Regions from separate parts of the Homo sapiens genome. Here region 2 is linked to region 1. Evidence: promoter capture Hi-C in human tissues and cell types (Jung and others, 2019). All regions are on one chromosome and are shown on one strand. The core of a region is centred on a gene start or on the middle of the fragment in contact, and the rest is flanking DNA. Distances in the headings are between cores, read along the strand shown.

Evidence for each region. The method cuts DNA at HindIII sites, captures the fragments that hold promoters and counts their contacts. A contact is called where the count stands out against the background at its distance.
Region 2: a fragment that was not itself captured here is called in contact with the fragment with the promoter of PIGK in region 1 in 1 of the 25 tissues and cell types used here (dorsolateral prefrontal cortex).

Annotation. Positions count from the first base shown.
Region 1 is chr1:77,216,531-77,221,618 of GRCh38, forward strand. PIGK (phosphatidylinositol glycan anchor biosynthesis class K) reads right to left here and starts at 2,900. Exons shown (of 11, transcript NM_005482.3): 1 at 2,780-2,900. The coding sequence starts at 2,872. It overlaps LOC105378808 (a long non-coding RNA gene), which reads left to right and starts at 2,990. Exons shown (of 3, transcript XR_001738109.2): 1 at 2,990-3,123; 2 at 4,258-4,463. RefSeq lists an enhancer at 2,584-2,693. The HindIII fragment of the contact is 8,221 bases long and covers 1-5,088 here.
Region 2 is chr1:77,266,908-77,271,995 of GRCh38, forward strand. No RefSeq gene overlaps it. Among named protein-coding and RNA genes, the nearest start is that of AK5, 13 kb to the right of the region's middle. The HindIII fragment of the contact is 4,816 bases long and covers 144-4,959 here.

The sequences.
Region 1 (5,088 bases), core at 1,650-4,149:
CTATAATGGGTTGTCTATTGTTAAGCATTGTTTCTGATAAATTGACATGATAAATATAGAATAATAACCTGAACAAAAAGTGTGTGTGTGGCATGTGTGTGTGGGGGGGTGTGTGTGTGTGTATTTTTCCCCCTCCAAACTCAACAGCTGCCTGGATGTTAAAGAAAGCAATGTGCTACAGTGGTTAAGCATTGATTTGGGAATTCAAAGACCTAAGCTAAAATTTAGGTCCTATCTCGCAACTGGCTGTGAAATTGCGGTAAGTCATTTAGCTCTTTAGACTTGACTATCCTCATGTCTCTAATGTGCCTTCCACCTCCAAAGTTCTTACTTCTTTCAGACCTTAGTGAAAAAATTTAGATGGCAAAACTTTTTTGTGGTTGTCTAGACAATACAGTCATTATAAAGTTATTCATTCTACATACAGTAAATGCAGCACCTATTATGTGCCAGATACCATTAATATATAGTGATACAAAAATCACTAAAAAGCATGCTGCTTTCTCTCAAGAATCCAGAGTTCAATAAAGAGGAGCATGCAAACACATTACACTATAATTATTACATTCATTAATTCATCACACTCATTGGGCAACATGCCAGTCACTGCCCTGAGTGCTCCAAATACAATGCTGGGCAAAAATAGCCATAGTACTGCCTTCAAATAGGTTACTATCTAATTGGATAGATATACATTTAACAGATAAGGAAAGACACACAATATAATAAGAGTACAACAGAGGGACCTGACCTGGTCAGGAAAGTTTTCCTAAAGAAGTGACTGTTGGGTTAAAATCCAAAAGATGAAGAAAAGAGGAAATACAATTCCAGACAGAGGGGAGACAGCTCTAATGTGAGAAAAAGCTTAAAGGTTTTGAGAAACTGAAAGAAAGTTAGCCTAACTAGAAGTTTGAAAGAGAAAGAAAAAATTTGAAGTGTAGTCAGGGCCCAAAAAATATGCAGGGTTTTTGTTTGTGGGTCATGGTGGAGAGTTTAGAGCAACATTAAGGTGATCTTTTGAGCAACATCAAGGTCCCTGGGTGACATGATTGGAACTGCATTTTTAAAAGTTACTCTGGCTTCAATTTGGAGAACAGATTGAAAGGAAAAAACAACGACTCAAGGCAAAACATTTAGGAAACTGTTGCTCCTATCTCTAAGTGAGATATGATGGAATAACAGTACAAACCATACACGGGTTATAGTAAATGAGTGCTGTATCAAGTGTACAAATTACAAGAGTAAAGGCAAAGGTAAGAGATAGGGAAACGTTCTACAGAGGTTATGCCTTTACTGTATCTTAGCACATGAACAGAGGAAACACAATGTATAAAATATTGTAATGTGAAAAAGCACAGCAATTATGTAACTACAAAAAACAGTAATAGTATCCAAGATGAAGCAGTCAAAGTTAGAATAAAGGAGGGAAACAGAACTTCTATTTACTCATATTTATGTTCTCTAAAAATTATGCTATATAAACATCAAATATATAAATTAACAGTAATTCATAAATATATATGAAGTTCATGCTCAATATCTTTTTTTAACTGATAGGGTGTGTATTCAAAAAGTTTGGAGTCCACTGGTCTAAGCTCAAGGTGCCCAGGTGGTGGGGAGAAGAGGTTCCAATATGGAACACTGGAAAAGTAGGCAAGCACCAGGTCATAACGTTTAGACTTTATTCTGTATGCAATTAATAAATATTTAAAAGATTTCATCAGAAGAATAACCTGATCAGGCTTACATTTCGTGTAGACGAATCTAGCACCAAACTCAGGGAGTATGGAGGCCTATGGAAAACAAGATAAAGTAATCGCAAGAGTCTAGACAAGAAGTGATCACAGCCTGAATTAAGTCAGTGGAACTGGAGAGGTGAGGGCAATTTTAAGAACTCAGATCACAAAATTTAGTGATAATTAGAATATGGGATAAAGAGATTAAGACTCTCAGGTTTCTAGCTTAGGAGCAGCACATCTGGTTGAGAAATGGAGGAGAAAAGGGGTGCTTAGTTTTTCAGTGTCTTTTTAAGAGGAGGTAGGATAAGCAGAAGATAAAACTTTGCACACGGATTTTCAAATGTCTCCTGACTATCCCGGATTCTTAGTCAGCTGGATATGCAGGCCTGAAAAAGATACCAGACATCTAGATTGTAGACCGGGACTGAGGAATCATCAGAGTATGGTGAATAGTAAAAGCATTATAGAGCACCAGAACATCCTGTGTCCACGTTTAAAAATGGGAAGCTGGAGGAGCCCAGGATAAAACTAAGCACCCCTTTTCTCTTCCATTTCTTAACCCAGACGTGTTGCCCCTAAGCCAGAAACTTGAGAGTTTTAATAAACACTTATATTTATCCCATGTTCTAATTATCACTAAATTCTATTATCTGGATTCTTAAAATTGCCCTCATCTCTCCAGTTCCGTCTGACTCCTATCAAAACAGAGGGCTGCAGTTGAGTAGTAGGAAAGCAGTTGCTGCACACTGACATTTCACGAGCCTCTTGCTCGTATTTCACCTAAGAACTGCACACATGTAGGAGCAAAGGATCAGGTCCTCCTCTGTCTCCGAGGGTTTGATTATTTCAATTCATCGTTTTAAAACGCTGAAACAGACCAACAGTGTCCTAACCCGTGCCCAGTGATACCCTCCTCAAACCCAGCCTGGGTCAGGGGCTGATTGACTCCAGGAGGCGTCCCTCAGCTACTGTGTATCGGACATCTGCTGGAGGGCTCACAGCCGGCCTCCCGGCTGTGGTCAAATGAGCCTGACTCCTACCTCGATATGACTAGCGGCCACGCTGCCGAAGGACAAGAGCAACACAGTTGCCAAGACAGTCGCAGCCCGGCTGAGGCTGTCGGTGACGGCCATGTTTACCGGCTTCAGACTTCCCGCACCTGAAGGGGCGGAGGCAGTGCCGTAAAGTAGCGCTGCGGGTTTTTGCGACACCATCCGCGCCTCTTCGAGGTGGCCCTCTGGTCCGGCTTTAGAACTCTGCGGTTTTGTGGAGCTCGAGAGTCCGGGACAAGGTAGACGCAGGATATTGACCTTTTTATTTTTAACTGCATTTTCAGTTTGGAGGTTGTAAAATAGGTATAACATTTAAGAAAAAAAATTGAAAGGTGAGTGGAGGGAAAACCCGTAACTCCTTAAACTTTAAAAACTTATTTCTCTGTTCCCTTATTTATTTTATTTATTTATTTATTTATTTATTTATTTATTTTGCCGAGTGCTGCCAATTCTTTGAAAATATGAAGCTGGATGTGGTGGGAAGAACAAGCGTTTTGGCACAAAAAGATGATTAATTGGATAAACTATAAATGGAAAATGTGGGTGGGCGCTGCAATTTAGAGGCTTGGGGTCTACTACCTGGTGAAAGGATTAACATGGGAAGCTAGTTACGTTTTTGTTTCTTGAGTATCTTCTGTAATTATGGAACTAAAGCCTATCTGGAAGAGACACAGCTGGTGTATATGTATGGTCCACCATTCTCTTTATTATGTGAGTTCAGTTTTAATTTATGCATTTCATCTAGTATGACATAAACGTTTCCACGCTGCTTCCTCACAATTTTAACATTTAATGGTGAGATAAAATTCCATCCATTATTGATGCCTCAGCCAAAGTAATTGTCCCTCTGCTGCACAATGCAAAGTTTTTAAGTTTTACTATGAAAATAATATTGTAAAGAGTATCTTTTGTGTGTTTGGCTTTTTAAATCTGTTGAATTATTTTGTTTGTATAATTTTCCTGAACTAGGAATTTGGGGTCAAAATATTCCAAAACATTTTAATAACTATAAATGATGTTGCTTTCCAAAATGAACAAGCTTACAGCACTATCAGAATACACAACACCAAACCATACCATTTTTTTTCCTTTAAATTCTTTGGTATGAAATGTTACCCCTAGGTAACTATACTTATAATTCTTTGGTTACTATCAAGATCTGATGTCTTTCTTGTGTTTCTAAACTATCTCTGTGTCCTCTGATGTAAATTCTTTGTTTATATATTTATGTTTTGCATATGAATTTGAATAATATATTTATAAATAAGTAACATTAGCCTTTGCCATATTTTATGCTATTGCTTTTCCCATTCTCTTGTCTCTCTTTTCCTTTTATTTGTTTCTTTTGCTATTGCACTTTGTGAGAGGTTTCATGCTATTTAGTCAAATTTAGGTTTTCCGTTACGTGAATCCTAGAAAGTAAATACACTGCCAGAATATCTTCCATGTATTCATTAATTCAACAGATATCTATTGGATGCTGATGATTATGAAACAAAGTAGCAAAGATAAGAAGCCATTTGCTCATTCTGCTCCTTTGCCAGCAATATTTCACAAAGCCCCTGACTCATTGACTGTGAGCAGCCTTGTGGAAGAATGCCTTGAAGACCATAAGCAGGATAGGGAATAGGTTTGCACATCTCTTGCCTGAATCACTGAATTTTTACAAAAGGTAAGTTTGGTGATCCTAGCCCTTGCCTCTTCCTGTACATAAGATAATGTCTGACAAGATTAATGATTATGCCTCAAATTCATGACCAGATGTAACTTCATACCCACACTTTGATGAGACTTTACTTGTATTAACCCATTTTCATACTGCTATGAAGAAATACCCAAGACTGCATAATTTCTAAAGAAAAAGGCTTAGTGGACTCACAGTTCCACATGGCTGGGGAAGCCTCACAATCATGGTAGAAGATGAAGAAGGAGCAAAGGCACATCTTACATGGCAGCAGGTGAGAGAGCATGTGCAGAGGAACTACCCTTTATAAAACCATCAGAGGCCAGGTGCAGTGGCTCACACCTGTAATCCTAGCACTTTGGGAGGCCGAGGCAGGCAGATCATCTGAGGTCAGGCATTCAAGACCAGCCTGGCCAACATGGCAAAACCCCATGTTTCAAAATTAGCTCAGTGTGGGGGCACATGCCTGTAATACCAGCTACTAGGGAGGCTGAGGCAGGAGAATCGCTTGAACCTGGGAGGCAGAGGTTGCAGTGAGCCAAGATCACGCTACTGTACTCCAGCCTGGGCAACAGAGCCAGACTTTGTCTCAAAAAATAAAATGAAATAAAAT
Region 2 (5,088 bases), core at 1,302-3,801, 50 kb after region 1:
GAAGGCAGAGAAGGATGGGAATAGTAGGAGATAGGTCATGAGGTTAGAACAAAGGAGTGGAGAAGTATAGTTGTGTGTGTGTGTGTGTGTGTGTGTTTAAGGGTGGGTTACATAGGGCACTTTTGGCCACTGTAAAATAATTTTGGGTTTTTCTCTGATGTGTGATGGGTTTTGAGTAAAGAATGACAGGATTGGACTTAATTTTTGACAGCACCACTCTAGTTGCTGAGTTGAGAATAGAGGCAGGCAGCAGAAAGTGAAAGCAGGGAGACCAGCAGGAGGCTACTGCAAAAATGCAGGTGAGAAATGATGGTATTTGGATCAAGGTGGTGGTAATGATGATGGTGAAGAGAAGTTAGATTCTGGATACGTTTTGAAGCTACAGTCAACAGGATGTGAGTGATGAAAGAAAGATTCAAGAATAACCCCAAACTTCTTCTGGCCTAGGCAACTGGCAGAATTCACTTGCCATTAACAGAGGTGGAAAAAACTTCATAAGGACTAGGAGAAGAGGGGATGATCAGGAAGTTGATTTAGGAATATTAAATTGGAGGTGCCAATTAGACTTTAGAGTGGAATTAACAAGTAGGCATTGTATACAAGAGTTTCTGTAGTTTGAGTAAATGTCTAGGCTGAGGACATAAATTTCTAAAGACTAAGGGCATATAGATGGCATATAAAGCCATGAGGCTGGATGAGATCACAAAGGGAGTAAGTCCATACAGAGAAAAACAAGGTGTCCAAGGGCTGAGTGCTGGTGCCTTTCACAATTAGCAGTCAGGGAGATGAAGAGGAAGCAATGAAATAACAAAAAAGGAACCATCAGCGAGGTAGAGAAAAATGTGGGATGTATTATTCTGCTGACACTTGAGTTTATTGCTAATTTGAGTATTAGACTTCTACATGATTCATATATTGATAATGTAAATCAACAACTGATTCTGAACTCCATCTGATTTTTTTCATCTGCTTTTAAAAAAGCAAATATGACAAAAAGACAAGGTGAGGCAGAGCCTATAGCTAGAAAGCACTCAGTGCTCATAGATGAGTGGGGAAGAGGGACTGACAACAGAACATTTGAATTTGCAGGTGCCTCAGAACATCCGGGAGTATGATTGCTATAGTTGTAACATAGAAGAGAGTCATTGTAATCACAGGCAGCAGAAACATCGGGGCAGTATTGAAATTGTGAGTACACATGATTAGGAGATCAGATCTGAACTAAGAAAATTCAGACAGAAATATTTTTATTTAAATAATAAACGATAGATATCTAGGTATAGGAAATATCTGGATGCTTTACAGCTTCTCTATTTTCATATCGATGGTGTGGGTTTGCGTACATTATGTCATCCTGAATTAAGAAGCTTGAATGATGTTTGTTTTTGCTGTTTTTTATTTAATGGATGTTAGTAAACATCTTTTTTGGTGTAGAGAAATGCTATGGATAAATAGGAAAAATAAATTACCAGAAACAAAATCTCAGTATCCTTTGTTATTTACGTGATTATAGAATTGGTAAATTATACTATTTTAGGAATACATTCTTGTTATTTGTTATTCTTTTCACAAATAGCCTGTTTTCTCCATACTTTTTCCATCTAGACATGTACCTATTCAGCTCTTTAGAAGGAATTAAAATAATTTTTTGATGTTTCAGGACAAAATACTCCTACTAGTTTGGAGGAGAACTGGGAGCTAAAAATAATCTAATTGGCAACCTTTTGAGAATTAAATAAAAAATTCTCATCTCTCCATTTCCACTGTCTAAAAAACAAGTCTCAAGGATTTCATTAATGTCTAAAGTTTATTTTCACATTTTATTTTTATTTATTTACCTATGATTTATTAAGGAAGTATATTTTAGCTTAAAGATTCTACAAAGTAATACCAATAACAAACAGACTTTAACCTCAGTGTGGTTCTTGGCAATGCAGGCTGTCTATAATATATAGTAGGAAAATTGGCTAAGAGATTCATCAAAACTTATTCATACAAAGCAAATAGTAAGCAGGGACCAGAGATTCTGACTTCCCTGTTATAGAAAAAGTAAGACTTGCGAGAAAGGTGGGGGAAAAAAGAAAAAGAAAAGTAACACAGCCACAGCATATAGTAATCATACTAATAGTAATTGCCATTGTTTGTGTGTCAGGAACTGTATTTGAACTCTGTGCACGTTATTTTTAATCCTTATACAATCCAACAGGGTAGCTATTATTTTATCTTTTCTAAAGATAAAGAAATTGAGGCAGATAGATTAAGCAATGTGCCCAAGACCACATACATAATAGGTGACAGAACTGAGAAATGAAGCTGCTCTACTTCATTTCAAAATAGGCTCTATCATAGATCGTTTTTCTGCATCACACTACTTCTACAATACATTGCTTCTTAAAACAATGTAATTATTCAGACTTTTTGTGATCCAATTTTTTCTTTACTCAATGTGTAGGGAGTCAGAAATCCAGACTTGAAAACCCAGCTATACAACATCAATATACATACTTTATTTTGTTTATGACCATTCTAGACTTCCCCTGAACCCCTCATTCATTGTCTTAAAGCTTAGTGTCATATAATCATTTAAATACCCATTTGGGTAGTACTCAGTCTTAGATAAACATATATCAGCTCTTAGGCGGCCTTCCCTTGCCTCCCTTCCTGAAATCATCATCATGTGATGAGGGCAAGATGTGGCCTGGTGAGGATGTGACAGAAAAAACTTCTCAGACACCAGATCCTCTGCCTCCTCTGGTCTGCTGGATGATGTCCTTTGTTTAGCTGTTGCTTGACCTAGAGCTATTAGAACCCAAGATCTGAAGCTCATACAATTCATGATCTGGAATCTACTGGCTTAGTTAGGGGTCAGTCTCCCCAACTAACTCTGCCTCATCTCAGGGAAGGGAAAGGGATGAATGTATTCTTACTAGACTACCCAGGGTTACTGGATTGATGCAGTCTTTCCTGGATGTAACCACTGTGCTCTTTTATGACTGCTTCCACCAGTGTGGTGGCAGAGTTGTTGTCCCCTTTCTGTGATTTTCACCATTGATCCAGCTTCTGACCTACTGTCTCAGTATGGGATGAGTGGGGACCCAACAGACTCAGATCCCTAAAACTCTCCATGGTCACTGGTGGTACTTTGTGAGACTGGGCCTGCTCAGTTGGAGAATACCTATTTAGCATGAGGCTACATCCTTTTTATGCAGGGCCCCTTCCTTTCATGCTGCAGCAATCCCCAGCAAGCCTGTGCTCCCTCCCATCTCATAGACTCTCTGCTGTATCTCTTGGGAGTAGTGAGCTTGCAGGGAAAGTTCTTCTCTCAGACCACCTGGCTTACTACAGTGATACCATCTCTTGCCAGTGATCTCTCCCTCACTCCAATAGCCCTAGGGCAGAACAGCAAGCCCTGGGTCCGCAGACAACCACCAGGATTTGAGATGTCAGACTTTTCTTTTCTTTTTTTTTTTTGAGATGGAGTCTTGCTCTTTCGCCCAGGCCGGACTGCAGTGGCCTATCTCGGCTCACTGCAAGCTCCGCCTCCCGGGTTCACGCCATTCTCCTGCCTCAGCCTCCCGAGTAGCTGGGACTACAGGCGCCCGCCACTACACTCGGCTAATTTTTTGTATTTTTAGTAGAGACGGGGTTTCACCGTGTTAGCCAGGATGGTCTCAATCTACTGACCTCGTGATCCGCCCGCGTTGGCCTCCCAAAGTCCTGGGATTACAGGCGTGAGCCACCGCACCCGGCAGAGATGTCAGACTTTTCTTCTGCCAGCCCGTCCACAAACTTTAGGAGGGCATCTCTTGGCCTACCTTCCTTCAGCTTCAAGAAAGGGAAGCATTTGAGTGTTTCCTTCTTTCCTCCATGAAAGAGGAGGAGATAATCCCTAAAACACTCTACTCTCCCAGTCCCCCGGGGCTTCTTATCTTTCTCACTGGTAAAGATCATCAGTTCAGTTTGGCTTCTTTCACCTGGGAATAAACCAGAAGTCTCTTACCAAGAACAGGGCCTCTGTTAAAACTGAGCACTACAAACTTCAGTAATTTTATTCTCAATCAGGTGTTATCTCTTATAACCCCACACTATTTGTCACCTGGAGCTGGAAAAGGTCTCCCATAATACTTCACACTGTCCTGTTAGTCATCCAAAATGATGTCAACTCATTTAAGATTCAAGACATTTTATTCATTTTTCTTCAATTCTTAATATAACTGTGTTTTTGTTTGTGTTTTTTTGTTTGTTTAACAGATTTCTTTCATTTCCCTTCATGTGGTGGTTTCCATTATGGTCACTGAAAGTTTGAAAATTTATAAAATAACTGCCTTCTGATCATTGTTACTGGTATTTTTTAAGGAATAATTTTAATCAGATGCCCTTTGTACAAAACACAGTTTTTCACAAAGCAAGCACAGAATCATAAAACTCAGGTGTAAAAGAGATGTTACACATCAGCTGAACCAAATTTCTTCTTTTACAAATGAGAAAACTAAGACTCAGAGGGTTAAGTAATTTGGCCAGTGCCATATTGCTAGTTAATTAGCAGGGTTTGGTCAGGACTCCCTAGTCCTTCAGAACACATATAAATCTTGTAGCTGGAATTATTTGTGTAATTGTGAATGTACAGTCTGACTTACTCCACCCCCAAACACACATACACACACACACTTAAGCTCTTTCCAGGGAGGAATTATCTGTTTTGTTCTCTGCTGAATCCCCAGTGCCTATCACAGGCTCTTGAATATAAATATCTGTAAAATAAAGGAATGAATGAATGAGTGGATATATTCAACAGATATGTGTGCAGATACTACTATTATGTAGATAGCAGTGCTTGGTTTGGGAGATGTAAAGATGAATAAGACAGGGTCCTGAAGAGAGGCGGACACAGAAACCAAGGGCACAGGAGCCCAGGGGAATGATTCATTCTGGGAAATTGTGTTTCTTCTGGTCCTGCATTGGGAAGACAGCTCTAAGGAATATGTACAGAGAGCTGCAGCCCTGAAGACCTTCATCACCTCCTGCAAGATCCAGCACATAGATCTCCACTCAAGACCTTGCACACTATTTCCTCTTAGACAATTGCAT